2 separate regions of the Homo sapiens genome follow, and region 2 is linked to region 1. The links are contacts of gene promoters, found by promoter capture Hi-C in human tissues and cell types (Jung and others, 2019). All regions are on one chromosome and are shown on one strand. Each heading gives the region's core, a stretch centred on a gene start or on the middle of the fragment in contact. The rest is flanking DNA. Distances are from core to core; before and after follow the strand shown.

Region 1 (3,699 bases), core at 852-3,351:
AAGATTGAAAAAAACAAAAATAACCCAAATCAACCAGCACTTAAGGACTGATGAAGAAAAAGTTGGTATAGAAATATAATGGGCCGGGTGTGGTGGCTCACACCTGTAATCCCAGCATTTTGGGAGGCTGAGGTGGGCGGATCTCCTGAGGTCAGGAATTCGAGACCAGCCTGGCCAATATGGTGAAACCCCGTCTCTACTAAAAATACAAAAATTAGCCAGGCTTGGTGGCACGTGCCTGTAATCCTAGCTACTCAGGAGGCCAAGGCAGGAGAATCGCTTGAACCCGGGAGATGGAGGTTGCAGTGAGCCAAGATCACCCCACTGTACTCCAGCCTGAGATCCGTCTCAAACAGAGTGAGATCCGTCTCAAAAATAACAAACAAACAGAAATAAATATAATGGAATCCTATATGGTCAATCCATTGTCATCCAAGATATCCACAATACATGGTAGAATGAATAAAACACAGTTTAAAATGTGCGAGTATAGAATGATCATGTTAATATACCCAGATGAGTTTTAAAGAAGCTATGCTTCTCTGGAATGTAAGTTCCAAAGACAGGGCTTTGTGCTCTTCACTGCTGAGTCCTTGAGGCCTAAGACAGTGCCTGGTACTTTGTAACCATGCAATCATGTTTGTTGAATGACTAAATGAAAGAATTTTAGAAAGTTTTTTACCAAAAGTTTAGCAGTGGTGGAGAGCTATTTAATAGTATTTTTTTTTTACTCTTCATATTTTCTCTATCATTTGAGTTGTCTTCAAAATGCTTGTTTCATTTTTATAGAAACAAATAATAGATTTAAATTATGTGATGATGCCTACTGCCTGTGAGATGTGGCAGTCTCACCTGTTTCAGCAGCTGTGTAAACTGGTTCAGCTCTTTTGGAAAACCATTTAACATTAAATATCCCCAAGTCACAAAATCCTTCTTCCCTTTGTCCGTTATTCCTTCATGGGATTTTATGCTAAGGAAAAAGATGCAAAACATGAAGTGATCTAGACATCCAAAGTCTTCATCCAAGTTTTTATATTAGGTAAGTAAAAACTCTGGTCAACCTAAAGACACCTCTAACAGAGGGAAGAGTGAAAGTAAATTATGGTAAATCCATTAGATGGAATTTAGGCCAGGCATGGTGGCCCACACCTGTAATCCCAGCACTTTGGACGACTGAGGCGGGGGAATCACTTGAGGTCAGAAGGTCAAGACCAGCCTGGCCAACATGGTGAAACCCCGTCTCTACTAAAAATACAAAAATTAGCCCGGCATGGTGGTGCAGGCCTGTAATCCCAGCTACTTGGGAGGCTGAGGCAGGAGAATCGATTGAAGCTGGGAGGCAGAGGTTGCAGTGAGCCAAGATTGTGCCACTGCACTCCAGCCTGGGTGACAGGGCAAGACTCCGTTTCAAAAAAAAAAGGAATTTAATGTAAAGATTACCACCTCTGAAGATCTGTAGCAATGTGAACAAAAGGAAGCTGAAAATGCAGGCATGTAATGATTTAATTTATGTGTAAACAAAACGATGATGCTGTTGTACTATGACGTAGAATCCTGGGTGCAGTTTTTTTTTCTTCTTAAAACCGCAGAAAGAATGTGGATTTTAGAGTTCTAGATAGGGGTTTTCATTTAGGCCTTGCGACATGGCTGTTACATGACCTTGGTTGGTCTGTTTCCCTAACCTCTTTGTGCCTCATTTGTCTTACCTACTAAATAGGCTAATAGTACTACCTCGCAGCATGAAGATGATTTTAATAAGATGAATGAGAGTAACGACTCGACAAACTATGGTGATTGTTTTTATTAATGCTGTTATTACATTTTCAGTTTTCAAAAAATTTTAAGCTCCCATCAGTTACAAACGGAAAGTAAAATAGCTAAAAAGGGAGTGAGAAAGAGATTCAAGAAATTGGGCTTTTGAGTTGGGCTGCACCCACTCTGGGACTCCGCAGGGGGCCTTGAGGGTGGAAAAGCCCCCGTGACCACACAGGGGCGCAGGCGCCCAGGCCGGGTGAGGCGTTCCCGGAGGTGTCCAGCAGAGGACGCTGCCGGCGGAGACGGGACCGGAAGCCGGGCCGCAGGCGGCCGGGCGTATTCGCCGACTCCTCCCGCTTCCGCTGCCGCAGCCGGTCGTAACCAAGTTGTGTCCTGTCAGCCGCTGTCCCCTTCGCCGCGATGCCGCTGGAGAACCTGGAGGAGGAGGGTCTGCCCAAGAACCCCGACTTGCGTATCGCGCAGCTGCGCTTCCTGCTCAGCCTGCCCGAGCACCGCGGAGACGCTGCCGTGCGCGACGAGCTGATGGCGGCCGTCCGCGATAACAGTGAGGCCCGCACGAGCGCCGAGTCAGCGGCCTAGGCCTGGGCCGTCCCCGCGTTCCGGAGCCTGCGGGGACTTTTTTTGATGGAGCTCCAGACCCCTCTGACGGGGTCTCAGAGACCAGGCCTGGCTTCTCCGGCCCTTAGGGTTTTGCTTTGGTTTGGGGATACCCTGGGGGACCTCGACTTGCCTCAGCGGGGTCTGCATCTCTCTGTGCCGCCTTCCCCTGTAAGGGCAGCTTGGGGGAGAATCGTGAGGCATTAATATTTACCCCTGTGCTAGGCACAGAGTAAAGGCCCCGTGACTTTCTGTCAGTGGGGACTGCTCCCGGGCGCGGGGTATTCCTGTGGGAGAGTTCAGCTTGCCTGTGGAAGGGAAATTTGGGTTCGGTTCTTTCTGGCCCTTCTGTAGTGAATGTGTATGTTTGAACATATGTATGTGAGTATGTGTGTATAAAAAGTCTTTCCCTGTTTGAAGACTTTTGGAACAGAATCCGGCAAGAGCAAACCGAGGATTGCCCTCCCTCCAGCCCTAGTAGAGGTTGGCATTGCCAGGATTGGCCGTCACGCAAACCTCCCACCAGCATACGTTTATGTTTTGCCAAGCCGATTATTAAGCGCCATCGCATGCCTTCCTGTTAGTGGGGAAGAGACTGGTGGATGACTTGTGGCGGGGCGGGGGGTGAAATACGTGGGCAGACTTTGACTTGAGGGCACAAGTGTCCCCACTCACACATCCCTCTTTTTGCATGTTAGACATGGCTCCTTACTATGAAGCCTTGTGCAAATCCCTCGACTGGCAGATAGACGTGGACCTACTCAATAAAATGAAGAAGGCAAATGAAGATGAGTTGAAGCGTTTGGATGAGGAGCTGGAAGATGCAGAGAAGAATCTAGGAGAGAGCGAAATTCGCGATGCAATGATGGCAAAGGCCGAGTACCTCTGCCGGATAGGTGACAAAGTGAGTAGAGATGGTTTTCCCTCTCTGTAGTTAGTATAGGCTAAAATTGGAGACTATTCCAGGTAATCGTTTCTCATTAAAAAAATTAACTTCGTTTTAGAAAAAGTATAAAGGTAATCATGCTTGCTTGTACTGGTGAATCAATGTAAAGATGAAAAAGTCGTCTCCATGAAATGCCTTGTCATTTCCCCAAACAGCAGCTAGGGCTGTATTCTTCCCCATTTCACCCCATGCCGATAAAAACGTAAGTGTACATCTAGAGAATTTTATTTACTGCTTTTACAAAATTGGGATCATTTTCAGCAGTTTTCTCACTTGGTTGGGAAGCACTGGTTCTGGTGTCTTTAGTACTTTACACGAGTAATACTTAGCAGAAACTAAGAAACAGTATAGTAAATGCTGAAGTTCTGTTATCTTTCTTT
Region 2 (3,699 bases), core at 465-2,964, 240 kb before region 1:
CTCCTGCCTCCTTCCTGCTTGCTCATGTCTTTTTCATCTTTATTGCTCCCTTGTTGACGCCATCCAGCCCATGGCTTCTTGTTACACTGGACTCTTGACTAGTGGAGTCACATCTCCAGCCTGGACCTCTCTCCTGAGCTCCAGACTTAGATACACATCTCTTCTCAGCATCTTCATTAGATGTCCAATCGGCTTCTCAGACTTGCTGTGTCAAAACATAGCGCTAACTTTTTCCTTTCCTTAAGCCTTGACTGTGTCAACAAATGGCACCTCCAGCTACCCAGTTGCTTGAGCTAAAAACTTTTGGCACCTTTGATTGTTCTCTTTCTCTTACCCTCTCCCCATATCCTATCCAATGGGAATAAGTCCTTTCAGTTCTACTTCAAAAAAATAGCCCAAATTGTAGCAGGTGAGGGTGAGAGGGAGGGAGGACTGACTAGAAAGGAGCTTGAGGTAACTTCCTGGGGTGCTGAAAATGTTTGATATCTTGATAGAGTGTGCGTTACATGGATATAGGCATTTTTCAAAATTGATGAGACTCTACATATAAGGTCTATGGATTTTGCTGTATGTAAATCACACCTCTGTAAAAAATATGATAGAAAAGATACATATCTCAAACCTCCACAGGTCCAACTTTAGTCCATGCTGCCATCATTTTTCACCTTGATTACTTGACAACCTTCCCAAACACCTAGTGGTTCTGAAGCTTAAATCACATCATAACATGACCCTGTTTAACACCTTCAGACAGCTTCTCATTGCAATAAGGACAAAACCCAAACACTTTGCCGTGACCTGTGAGACTCTCCCACCTTAACAAGTTCTAGCCCGTGCCTACCTCTCAAGGGCATCTTCCTACCTGGCTACTGGCACCCGTGCTTCAGTCACAGGCCAGCCCAAGTTTCTGCCTACCTCTGGGCCTTTGTGCTTGCTGTTCTTTCTGCTTGGAATGCTCTTCCCATAGATCTTTGCCTGGCTAGGAGCTTCTCACCATTGAGATCTTAGCTTAAATGTCCTTCTGTCAAGAGAACTTCCTGCCTAGCCTTGCTCCATGACTACACTCCACAGCCCACATTTTTCTTGGCCACATTATCTTACCAACTTTTCTCCAAAGCACTTTCCAAGATCCAAAATATTTTATTTTCAATATGACAAGCCTGTCCCTGTCCCTTCTTGTCCCTTAAAGGCAAGGATTGCATCATTTAAATCCCATCTTCAGTGACAGTACCTTCCTTCTAGGAGGGCTCCCTAAACAAATTTTGACTGACTGATTAACTGATACCTGGGCCAGTGTCTAACACTGCAAGAAAATTATTAGGAAATTAAAAATTTTTAAGTTATTTTTATTACTCTCCTCCTTTCCTCATCTCCCTCTTACTTCCTGGGGGTTGTAGAGATTAATGTGCTTCCCAATGCTGCTAAGTCCATACACTTCACATTTCTGTGCCTTCTTTTTCTGTATTAATTGTAAACCAGATCAATTATAGTTGCCCCTTGTGGAGGTCTGTAAACCCCTTGGAGTGAGACATTATTTCAGCACTCTGTACAAGTGAGGCATGAGTGTCTCATCACCTTTTAAAAATTGCAACCCTAGCTAATGGTTTTCTCTGAAGACCCCAAGCTTCTGAACTCTCCTGCCTAGGAAGTCTGATCAGATGCAGCTGTCCTGGGAATTGATTTGGGATCCAAAAGTTTTTAAGATCTACTACAACTCCCACAAATGGCTTTGGAACTCAGAAAGCAGTAAACATATATATTTTTTAATCTGTCAGAGCTGATCTTTCCCAGGGAACAAAGGTTGAACTGTATGTTTAGTGCCCCAGACTTGCTCTTCTCTCTGGCCCCAAAAGCCACAACCTCTCACTGAATGTTATTGGTGGAGTACTAATTTAAAAATCAGAGCAAAGGGTTGCGTATTCTAAAAGTGGAAAAAAACATCAACAGATATTGGCAGGGAAGAGGATGTCCTTCCCCGGACGAGAGGAGAGTAATGCAGGCATTTCTGAAAACCCATAAGCCATGGTTTATTTATTTGGACTGTTCATTGAGTTACTAAGACAGGAATAGCACAGAGGTTTTATTTGCCTGCAGCTCTGGTTAAAAAGAATTAAAGGGGCCCCTTCAGGGCTTAGGGAAATAGTGCTGCGATTGATTAGCAGTGTCTGCCATGGGCAAGAACTGTTGTTGTACATAAAGAATTAGAGAATGTTAGATTTGGAATGAACCATGGAGATTATCTAGTGCAACTCTTGCCCTCGTAGCTGCTGCACTGTGTTAGGGGGCTTTAGAAGAATAATCATGAGCTTGGCAAAGTGATAACTCTTAGCTTTTCAGGCCTTTGTTCCCTCTTGGGTCCCGTTAGTGCGTTCAGTGTGGTGTACTGCAGCACTTCCTGAGAATGTGCCAGGGGAGCCTCACAAGAGAGTTCTGAGGCTGGTCAAGTTTGGGAAAGTCTATGGTACCATATCTCCTTCTCAAAGATTCATAAGGGACAATAAGCATGACATAGGGCCTGAGAAGTCCAATCATAAAGAAACCCACTTAACATTGTTTTCCAAACCTGGTGATTCTGGCGTGTTTTTCAAGGACACCTGTTGCCATTTTGTAGAACACTCTCTTTAGATGCTGCTGTGTTATGCTTAGGGAGAGTGTTCATTTCCTAGGGCTGCTGTACCAAATTACCACAATCTTGGTGGCTTAAAACCACAGAAATTTATTCTCTTACTGTTCTGGAAGCCAGAAGTTTGAAAGTCAGGGTGTTGGCTGTCTCTGGGAGAGAGTCTGTCCCGGCTTCTTGTGGCTGCCAACAATCCATCCTTGGCTTTCCATGGTTACAGCCGCATCACTCCAGTAGCTGCCTCCATCTTCACATTGCTTTCCCCTCTGTGCATGTGTCAAATTTCCCTCTGCCTCTCTAAGGATACTTGAGGTGACATCTAGAGCCCACTTGTATAATCTACATAATCTCATAATCTCTTCCTTTCAAAACCTTCAATTTAATTATATCTGCAAGGGCTTCTTCTTCAAATATGTTATGATTTTCAGGTTCTGGGGATCAGGACATGGACATATATTTGGGAGGCCATTTTGCAACCTACCACGGAGGCACATTGACTCAAGCATTAGGAGACTTGGATCAAGTTCTCACTTAGCTACGAGCTCCTCGGTCCCAGGAAGAGGCAGCAAGGGTGTTTAAACCAGGAGTCAGGCCTATTTCCTCACCCCTCAGAACTTCAGTGTCCTCAGCTGTTAGTGGGATATACCTGTATACTTCCTAGGCGTATTATAAAATTAAATGAGATAAAACTTGTGGTGCACTTAGCACAAGTGAATATCAAGTAAATATTGGCTTACTGTTATATATTTTTACTACTGCTGTGTTGCTGCCACTGTTATCATGTTCCTTCTCTTTGAGTCTTATTGTCAAATGAAGTGATTAAGGCTAACTCTGGCCCAAGAATTGTCAAGGATCCTTTCAAAATTAGCATACTGTGGGTTCCAGATCTCTCAAAGGTCACATTACATCTTCTAGATCTTTTCACTGAAGTGTAATATATCCATATAGGAGAGTGAACTTATCATAGGTGTTCAGCTGAATGAAATTTCATAAGCTAAATATACCAGTGTTACCAGCACACAGAATCAAGAAATAAAATATTACCAGTGCCCCACAATCCCTTTTTGCACCCCTACTTA

The links. Contacts are between HindIII fragments. The study calls those that stand out against the background at their distance.
Region 2: a fragment that was not itself captured here is called in contact with the fragment with the promoter of PSMD6 in region 1 in 1 of the 25 tissues and cell types used here (IMR-90 fibroblasts).

Annotation. Positions count from the first base shown.
Region 1 is chr3:64,021,896-64,025,594 of GRCh38, reverse strand. It overlaps PSMD6 (proteasome 26S subunit, non-ATPase 6), which reads left to right and starts at 2,101. Exons shown (of 8, transcript NM_014814.3): 1 at 2,101-2,320; 2 at 3,072-3,277. The coding sequence starts at 2,176. LOC105377121 (a long non-coding RNA gene) reads right to left here and starts at 1,520. Exons shown (of 3, transcript XR_940906.3): 1 at 1,444-1,520; 2 at 853-970. RefSeq lists a silencer at 1,893-1,992 and enhancers at 1,555-2,176, 2,143-2,492, 2,177-2,799. The HindIII fragment of the contact is 10,487 bases long and covers 1-3,699 here.
Region 2 is chr3:64,258,916-64,262,614 of GRCh38, reverse strand. It overlaps a transcript of PRICKLE2 not described here. Among named protein-coding and RNA genes, the nearest start is that of PRICKLE2, 35 kb to the right of the region's middle. The HindIII fragment of the contact is 3,565 bases long and covers 1-3,496 here.